Linked DNA regions of Homo sapiens: all the other regions are linked to region 2. The links are contacts of gene promoters, found by promoter capture Hi-C in human tissues and cell types (Jung and others, 2019). All regions are on one chromosome and are shown on one strand. The core of a region is centred on a gene start or on the middle of the fragment in contact, and the rest is flanking DNA. Distances in the headings are between cores, read along the strand shown.

What was found. Contacts are between HindIII fragments. The study calls those that stand out against the background at their distance.
Region 1: a contact is called between a fragment that was not itself captured here and the fragment with the promoter of SLC6A13 in region 2, in 2 of the 25 tissues and cell types used here (dorsolateral prefrontal cortex and liver).
Region 3: a fragment that was not itself captured here is called in contact with the fragment with the promoter of SLC6A13 in region 2 in 2 of the 25 tissues and cell types used here (lymphoblastoid cells and spleen).

Annotation. Positions count from the first base shown.
Region 1 is chr12:741,791-744,490 of GRCh38, forward strand. No RefSeq gene overlaps it. Among named protein-coding and RNA genes, the nearest start is that of WNK1, 9.4 kb to the right of the region's middle. RefSeq lists an enhancer at 1,566-1,685. The HindIII fragment of the contact is 8,426 bases long and covers 1-2,700 here.
Region 2 is chr12:261,507-264,246 of GRCh38, forward strand. SLC6A13 (solute carrier family 6 member 13) reads right to left here and starts at 1,330. Exons shown (of 15, transcript NM_016615.5): 1 at 1,283-1,330. The HindIII fragment of the contact is 8,106 bases long and covers 1-2,740 here.
Region 3 is chr12:533,801-536,658 of GRCh38, forward strand. It overlaps B4GALNT3 (beta-1,4-N-acetyl-galactosaminyltransferase 3), which reads left to right. Exons shown (of 20, transcript NM_173593.4): 2 at 1,366-1,469; 3 at 2,418-2,495. Among named protein-coding and RNA genes, the nearest start is that of B4GALNT3, 75 kb to the left of the region's middle. RefSeq lists an enhancer at 635-1,134. The HindIII fragment of the contact is 4,738 bases long and covers 1-2,858 here.

The sequences.
Region 1 (2,700 bases), core at 160-2,659, 480 kb after region 2:
TATTATTATTATTTAGAAGGAGTCTTGCTCTGTCGCCCAGACTGGAGTGCAGTGTCACAATCTCAGCTCACTGCAAACTCCGCCTCCCGGGTTCAAGCACTTCTCCCGCCTCAGCCTCCCAAGTAGCTGGGATTACAGGTGCATGCCACCACGCCCAGCAAATTTTTGTATTTTTAGTAGAGACAGGGTTTTGCCATGTTGGCCAGGCTGGTCTCGAACTCCTGAGCTCAGGTGATTCACTCACCTTGGCCTCCCAAAGTGCTGGGATTACAGGTGTGAGCCACTGCACCTGGCCGAGACTACTATTTAAAGAGTATTATTACTGTCTTAAGAGAATGTATACTTCTATCTACTGAGAAGTATTACCTGCTATAGAGTTTGGCACTCTTTTCCTAATTCCCAGCTATTCTAAGGGAGTCAATTTACCATATCTTCAATTGGTCCAAACACAGGCAGACGCTGGAAGATGATAATATTATTGCTGTTGTTGAATTTGCTAAATACTCTTTTTGGTTACAGAATTAACCTGACTGTAGAGGTTAATTAAGCAAAGTATGTTCAGTAAAATTATCTTAAGATTCAGAAAATTGGCTGGGCGCGGTGGCTAACGCCTGTAATCCCAGCACTTTGGAAGGCCGAGGTGGGCAGATCACCTGAGGTCGGGAGTTCGAGACCAGACTGGCCAGCATGGTGAAACCCCATTTCTACTAAAAATACAAAAATCGGCCAGGCGTGGTGGTAGGTGCCTGTAATCCCAGCTACTCGGGAAGCTGAGGCAGGAGAGTTGCTTGAACCTGGGTGGCGGAGGTTGCAGTGAGCTGAGATTGCGCCATTGCACTCTAGGCTGGGCGACAGGGCAAGACTCCGTCTCAAAAAAAAAAAGATTCAAAAAATTATCACTGAATGTCAAATTATGAATATATAAGTAGCATACAGAATGTGCCTTGATCATAAATGACTAAATAATGTAAGCAAACTCTTAGAGATCATAAGGAGTTGGGAAGCTTGTCCTTCTATTTACTGGTAAGGAGGTACTCAGGTGAACATTATGTTCAGAATCTTTTCAATATCTGTCTTGATAGCTATCCCTATCCCTCCCAACCATCGAAATGGATGAAAATGACCATTGCTTAAAGGTTTTTCAAACTGAATTAGTAATATCATTTTTTCATTTTTACCATAGAGTGTATGTAGACTTTTCAGGTAGGTTTCATATCTCTTGGGTATTGAGACAAATAGTTTGTAAGCAGAATAGGATGCTTTATAGAGTATTCAATAATTCAATATTATGTTTCAATAATTTTGGCACAACTAAATATCATTTTAAAAATCTGATTTCTTGAAGAATAACTTATATACAATAAAAAATTGCCCATTTAAAGTATAGTCAGGGCCAGGTGCGGTGGCTCACACCTGTAATCCCAGCACTTTGGGAGACCAAGTTGGGATAATCATTAACATAGCAAGATCCCCGTCTCTACGAAAAAAAAAAAATTAGCTTGGCATGGTGGTGTGCATCTGTAGTCCCAGCTACTCAGGAGGCTGAGGCCTGAGGATCCCTTGAGCCCAGGAATTTGAGGCTGTGATGAGCTATGATTGCACCACAGCACTCTAGCCTGGGCAACAGAGCAAGACCCTGTCCTTAAAAAAAAAAGTATAATCACCCACTTAATGAGTTTTGAATGAATACAGTCATGTAACCATCACCAAAATTAAGACAGAAAACATTCTCGTGACTCAAAAAGTTCTCTGCGCTCCTCTGCAGTTCATTTCCTCCCCCTCTAACCCCAGAACTGATCATTCTGCCGCCAGTTTTGGGTTTTCTACATGGCCACATAAATGAAATCAGTAGACTTCTGTGTCTGGCTTCTTTCATTTAGCATCATGCTTTGGGAGTTATCCATATGATTGCACATACCACTTCGTTTATTTTTATTGCTGAGTAGCATTCCATCATAAGGGCACAACACAATTTACTTGCCTGTTCACCAGTTGATAGATATTCGGTTTGTTTCTAGTTTTTGGCTATCATGAGTAAAATTGTTATGAAATTTTCCATGCAAGTCTTTGTGTGGACATGTTTCCATTTCTCTTGGGTTAAATATCTGGCAGTGGAATTGCTAGATCATGTGGTAAGTATATGTTCAACTTTAATTATTAGAGAGTCAAGCTATTTCCCAAACTGGCTGAACCACTGTACTCCCGGTAGCAACGTATGAGAAACTAGTTGCTCTACATCCTCACCAACCATTTTTAATTTTAGTCATTTTCGTGGGTATGTGGTGATATTTCATGGTAATTTTAATTTTCACTTCCTTAATGACTAATGATGTACATCTTTTCATGTGCCTATTTATCCTTTCATTTATATTGTTTGGTGAAGTATCTGTTCAAATCTTTTGCACACATTTTTACTGTACTATTATCTTAAGGTTGAATTGTAAGAGTTTCCTATATATTCTGTTTACAAATATTTTTTCAGATATTTGTTTTGCAATATTGACTCCCAGTCTGTGGCCCTTTCATTTTTGTAATATCATCTTTAAAGAACAAACATTTCTGGCTGGGCACGGTGGTTCACACCTGTAATCCCAGCACTTTGGGAGGCTGAGGCAGGAAGATTCCTTGAGCCCAGGAGTTTGAGACCAGCCTAGGTAACACAGGAAGACCTTGTCTCTACTCTGTAAAAAACAAACCAAA
Region 2 (2,740 bases), core at 80-2,579:
TTCTGGAGAAGGAGGCAGATGGACTTTTTTCTAAGCCTCAAGCAAAGTTCATGTTAACAGAACTTTCTCAGCAGTAACCTCTTCTGGCCACAGACTCTACTTTGGCTCTGACCCAGAAAATTAGAAAGTCAGTGAACAGGCCGGGTGCAATGGCTCACGCCTGTAATCCCAGCACTTGGGAGGCCGAGGCGGGTGGATCTCCTGAGGTCAGGAGTTTGAGACCAGCCTGGCCAACATGGTGACACCCCGTCTCTACGAAAAGTACAAAAATTAGCTGGGCATGGTGGCAGGCACCTGTAATCCCAGCTACTCAGGAGGCTGAGGCAGGAGAATCGCTTGAAACCAGGAGGCAGAGGTTGCAGTGAGCCGAGATCGCGCCACTGCACTCCAGTCTGGGCAACAAAGCGAGACTCTGTCTCAAAAAAAAGAAAAAAAAAAAAAGTCAGGGAACAGCAGGCATCTATGTTTATCTGATAAATTAGGGAATGAGCTCCTTTCTACAAAGGAGAAACTCAAGTAACTGGTCCCAAGAGGGCTCCTCAGTCCTTTTGGGAAGGTTGTCTAAGGTACTGACTGTGCTGGCCTCCCCTCCCTTTACCAGCTGATGGATCTCTCCCAGTGATGGAAAGCCTTCCCTTCTCCACCCTCCCAGACCCTAGGAGAAACAGTAGCCTTCTCCTGGCTCCCTTAGCCTCATTAGAGCTGCTTCTCAGAGGTAGCATGTTGTGTCTGAAAGGTCATGAGCTGTAGAGTCAGATGAGGCCAGGTTCAAACATTAGTTTTTTCTCATACCAATGTCTGACTTCAGAGAAGTTAATGAATGACTCTGAGCCTTAGTTTGTTCATCTGTAAAAGTGGGGATGATAGATAGGATATACTTAGCTATAAGAATTAAATGAGGAAATATACATATGTATACACACTTAATAGAATAACAGGTACTCAAATTTTTGTTTTCTTTCAGTCCTGTCAGAGTTGATCATTGTTCTCTTTTCTCAGAGAAGAAAGACTTTGTTTTCTTGGAGTTAAATCCAGTTGTCTTTCCTCTCAATCTAGGGCTCTCTCTTTCCAAATCACAGTGTCACTTAAGTCAACAGCCACCCAAGTTTCAGAAAGTCAAGAAAATAGCACATAATCTTTGCATTTGCACACATACATGTCAGAAGCGTACTTTCTAGGCGAGGGTAAGAAAAAAGTCCTTTGGTTGTAAGTCCCATGGATCCCACCAACCTGCAGTCTGAGACGCAGAAATAGAAAAAAAAGAGAAGAAAACATTTCGAACCTTAGTGAAGCTGCTGCCAGAGGTCCAGTCAGGGGAGAAGAATTATCTAAGGGGGAAGGAGAAGGTGCTGGCTATTTAAAGTGTGGTTCCAGAACGCCTCTGTGGCACTTGAAATTCTAAACTTGGCCCAGCCCACATTCCACCCTTGTGCCTCCCCCTCCCCTTTTCTCCCCTCCCCTCCCCTCGGCCACTGGACAACCCACACATGAGTGATTTCGCAGTCTGGGGAGTGTGCACGCCCTGGCAGGTCGGGCCAGTTGCTGGTGAGCTTATGAAGTGTGGTCTCCTCCCCGGAGCTCATGTGCGCTTCCCACCTGGTGAGCTCAGGGTCTCTCTGGAGGGATCCTGCCTCCCACCCCTGTCTCCAACACAAGTGCTCCTATAAATCCATCAAGAATAGGTATTCCTTTGGTCAGGTGCTGTGTAGATTAATTTAAAAATACATTTATCTTACCGTTTCGCAGCTTGCAATGTGGAATGGACGATGATTTAGAACAAAGATACATAGATACAGAACTCTGAGATGTCAGAAAAACTTCCCAAACATACACAGACATTTATACACATATAGAAAAAGTCTGAAAAAATCTTCGCTAAATGATTAATAGTAGTTACATTTGTAGAGTGGAACTGAGATCAGGAGATGGCAGTAAGGGAGATTTTTTCCCCACTTTTTCAATATTGTTTAGATTTTTTAATATGCTAGAATTTTAAAATATTTTTTAAATCAATAGAGAAAAGGAAGTGCCAACGTTTAAAATAAAGCAAAGCCCTAAAGCTGTTATAAGGGAAGGAGCAGGCGGTGAGCGCGAGGCCGAGGTCATCCAGGGAGCTTCGTTTCTCTGCAGGAACAGCCCACAGAGGCGGCTGTGAGAGTAGTTCATTCAGCCTGGAGTCTAGGACAGGGCAGAGTCCCACCTCAGCCATGTGCTGAAGCACAGTACATGTAGTGGAAACCTGCTCAGACTTTGACACCAGAGAGTGTGGGGTCTGAGTCCTACGTATGCCACTGTCTAGCTTGAGATTTCAGGAGATGATGACTAACTGTAAATGGCAGCTGTTATTCATCCTTAAGGGATTATTCACAGTGAGCAGTGAGCCCGGAAGTCTTCTTGAAGGAGACGGGACTGAGAGACCCCTGAGCTAAGCTGGGCTCTGGCCAGACTGTGAGAATGAGTTAGGTAGGGGATGCGGCAATGAGTGAGTGAGGTGATAGAGACATCTTGAGATGACGGAGAAGTGTGGAAAGAAAGACGGATCGAAGAGTCTAAGGTAGTTTCCGTTTCCTTGATCCCTCATCTAACTCAAGGGCATGGGGTAGGGGCATGGAAACACTGCATGGTAATACCTGGAGAGCTTCCCAGAAGCTTCTTGGAAATTATTATTCTTATGTTTCAGCGGCCCCTGTTCCTCTCCCCTTTCAAGCTTTCATCTGTTAGACTGAGCTCTGTAAAGCAA
Region 3 (2,858 bases), core at 138-2,637, 270 kb after region 2:
AAGCACTCTCACCCCACACCTGCATTTCAGCGTGCAGCCCCTGATCCCACCCCTCCCCAGGCCTGTTACAGAAACACTCGTGCATAGCGTGGGTGGCCACCTTCGGTGAAGCCCATATTCGTGGGTGGTGCTCTGTGTTCTGTGTCTGCGTGGCTGTCTGTGTCTCTGCTGGTGCTCACGTAGGGGTTCCTCTGTGACACTTCTGCCTACTGTCGACTCTTGGCTCCCAGGGGTCGGGGACTGTCAGGCTAATTCCGTCTAAGCAGTGCCCAGCGCAGCATCCTGGGGACATCGTGGTGAAGCTGTTGAGGGAAAGGGGAGCTCAGTGGAAATCCGTGGCACACTGGGGTCCTAGTCTTAGCCTTGCCACTACTTGCTAAGTGAGCCTTGATCAGCCATTTGACCAGTGTGGGTCCCATTTTCCTCACTTGAAGGGAGGATGAGGTGATCTCAAAAGCCTCTTTCGCTTCCAGTGGTCTACGGTTCTGGTTTGTGACTAACAGTGGTTTGGTTCCACTTATCCAAAGCCCAGCAATCTCCTCTGAGATGGGAGTCCCAGCCCTCGGGAGTGTCAGCAGTGGCCGGCCGCCGGACTGATTCTCCCCGGCCCTCACCCTGGTGCAGCCCCTTGCCTCCTGACTTGTGAATGCGCGTGCACCCCCCAGTTTCCTGTTCCCTCCCTCCCTCTCGCCATGGTTTGGCTTTTTGCCTTCCCAGGTGCGTGTAAGCCAACCTGGTCCAGAGCCTTCAGGGTACAGACAGCGTCAGCCACACGCAGCCTCCCGGTGACTCCAGTAATAGCAGGGCCTCTGATCTTGTATCTCCAGTGGTTTATACCTTTGTTTGACAGACATCACATCCCAGGCCCACTCTTTCCTGCCTCTCTCAGCTCCGGCTCTATCCAGCAACCCAGTGATCAGTGGTAGGGGGTCCCCACCCATTAGTAAGCCTCTGCTGTTCCCCGGGCTCAGGGCACAGAAACTGAGCAGGAAGGGAAGAGTGTACCGCCTGTCACGACCATCTCTCCACGGCAGCTCTCGGGATAAATTGGCCTCCAGAGGCAGCCGGGGGAGAACGAGCTGGTAGTGGGAGGCCCGTGGTCCAGGCTCACCTGGACTGGCTCCTTCTCTGGTTTCTGGAAGGCGGTGACTGCTGATGGGATGTAAGCTCATCTCCTCTCTCTGCCCTGTGGGCCTTGGCCAGTCTGCAGCTATCTCCTGCCCCCAGCCCAGCCCTCTTCCCACCCACCCTCTGAAGAGAGGTGAGAAGGGAAGACGGTTCCCTCCATTAACCTCCCAAATCTTTTAGGTGTATGAGGTTTCCAGGTTACGCTGACCTGAGGGCTCCTCTCTTCCCCTTCCACAGGGTACGGCAGCTGGAGAGAACTGGCCAAGGCTCTGGCCAGCAGGAACATTCCAGCTGTGGATCCACACCTCCAGTTCTACCATCCCCAGAGGCTGAGCCTCGAGGTAGGTGACCAGCCAGTCCATTGTCCCTGCTGATGCCTTAACAAAGGTCCGCAGGTGCTCTGCCCAGTTGCCTTAAGGGTAACCTCTGCTACTCTGGGAGGAGAGGCAGAGGATAAACAGCCCCCAGAGTCCTAGTCTGGCCTCAGGACCTCCTAGCTGAGCCTTAGAGATGTCCATCCAGCCTCCTCAAAGCCAGTAAAAGGAAACTTTTACTGGGGCTGCCACTGGGCCTGGTTTTCTGGTGTCTGCCCTCGTTCCCTAGTTCAGTTTGCCCGTGCCGGAACCACTCCGGGCCTGCGACCTCCATCACCAGTGGCATGTGGTGCCTCTCACTAGGGTGAGGGCTGGGCTGTGCTGTGCTTGCTGCTGAGATCAGAGGTGACGAGGTGGATGGACACCCCTCCCTGCCCGTAGCTGGGAGTACAGACTTGTGGTGGAGCATTTGCCTGCAGTGCTTCTTGAACCAATGGTCCCTAAGGAGGCAGATTAGAGAAACTGGGGTCTAATTCATTCAGGAGCCCCAAGGCTGAGCCTAGAACAGACATGGATTCCAGAGCTGGACCAGAGCCAAACTGAACCTGTGGACCTGCACAATAGGGAGGGTTTGGTGGTGTCCCTGAGGGGCTCCCACTTGTTGGAACCCAAATCTATACAGCTGGGGGATAAGGAGGAAGAGGGAGCCGAGGTCCCTGCCCTCAAGAGGTCCTGACCTAAAGAGGGTAAACTGCTTTCCCATATGGGGAGGACAGAAAATTCAGAAAAGTGAAGGAACCCGAGGAGCAGGCGCTGATGAAACTATGGAGATGTATTCCCAGGACATGGTGTGAATGACAGACGGCAGCGTGCTCCGAGCCGACGCCTCCTGGGAGCAGGCACTGTGCCTCCTGTCCTGCCCGTAGCTTCTCATCCTAATATTCCTACCAACTTCGTTCTTCATTCTTCCCCTAGGACCACGACATTGACCAAGGGGTGAGCAGTAACAGCAGCTACTTGAAGTGGAACAAGCCTGTCCCCTGGCTCTCAGAGGTGAGGGACTTTCTATTGTACCTGCCCTTTGAGAGAGCTAAAAAATAATGTTTACAGATAATTCCAGAGATCACAGAAAACTTTCTACTAGGGACCTTCTACCGTACCTACTCTTTGAGAGAGCTAAAAAATAATGTTTATGGATAATTCCAGAGATCACAGAAAACTTTCTACTAGTGAATTAAAAAAATTTTTAAATTATTTATTCAGTTAGTTTTTTGTTGTTGTTGTTTTTAGAGAAGGGGTCTCACTATGTCGGCCAGGCTAGTCTCAAACTTCTGGGCTCAAGCGATCCTCCAGCTTCAGCCTCCTGACTAGCTGGGATTACAGGTGGGCATTACTACACCTAGTTTAGTGATTTCA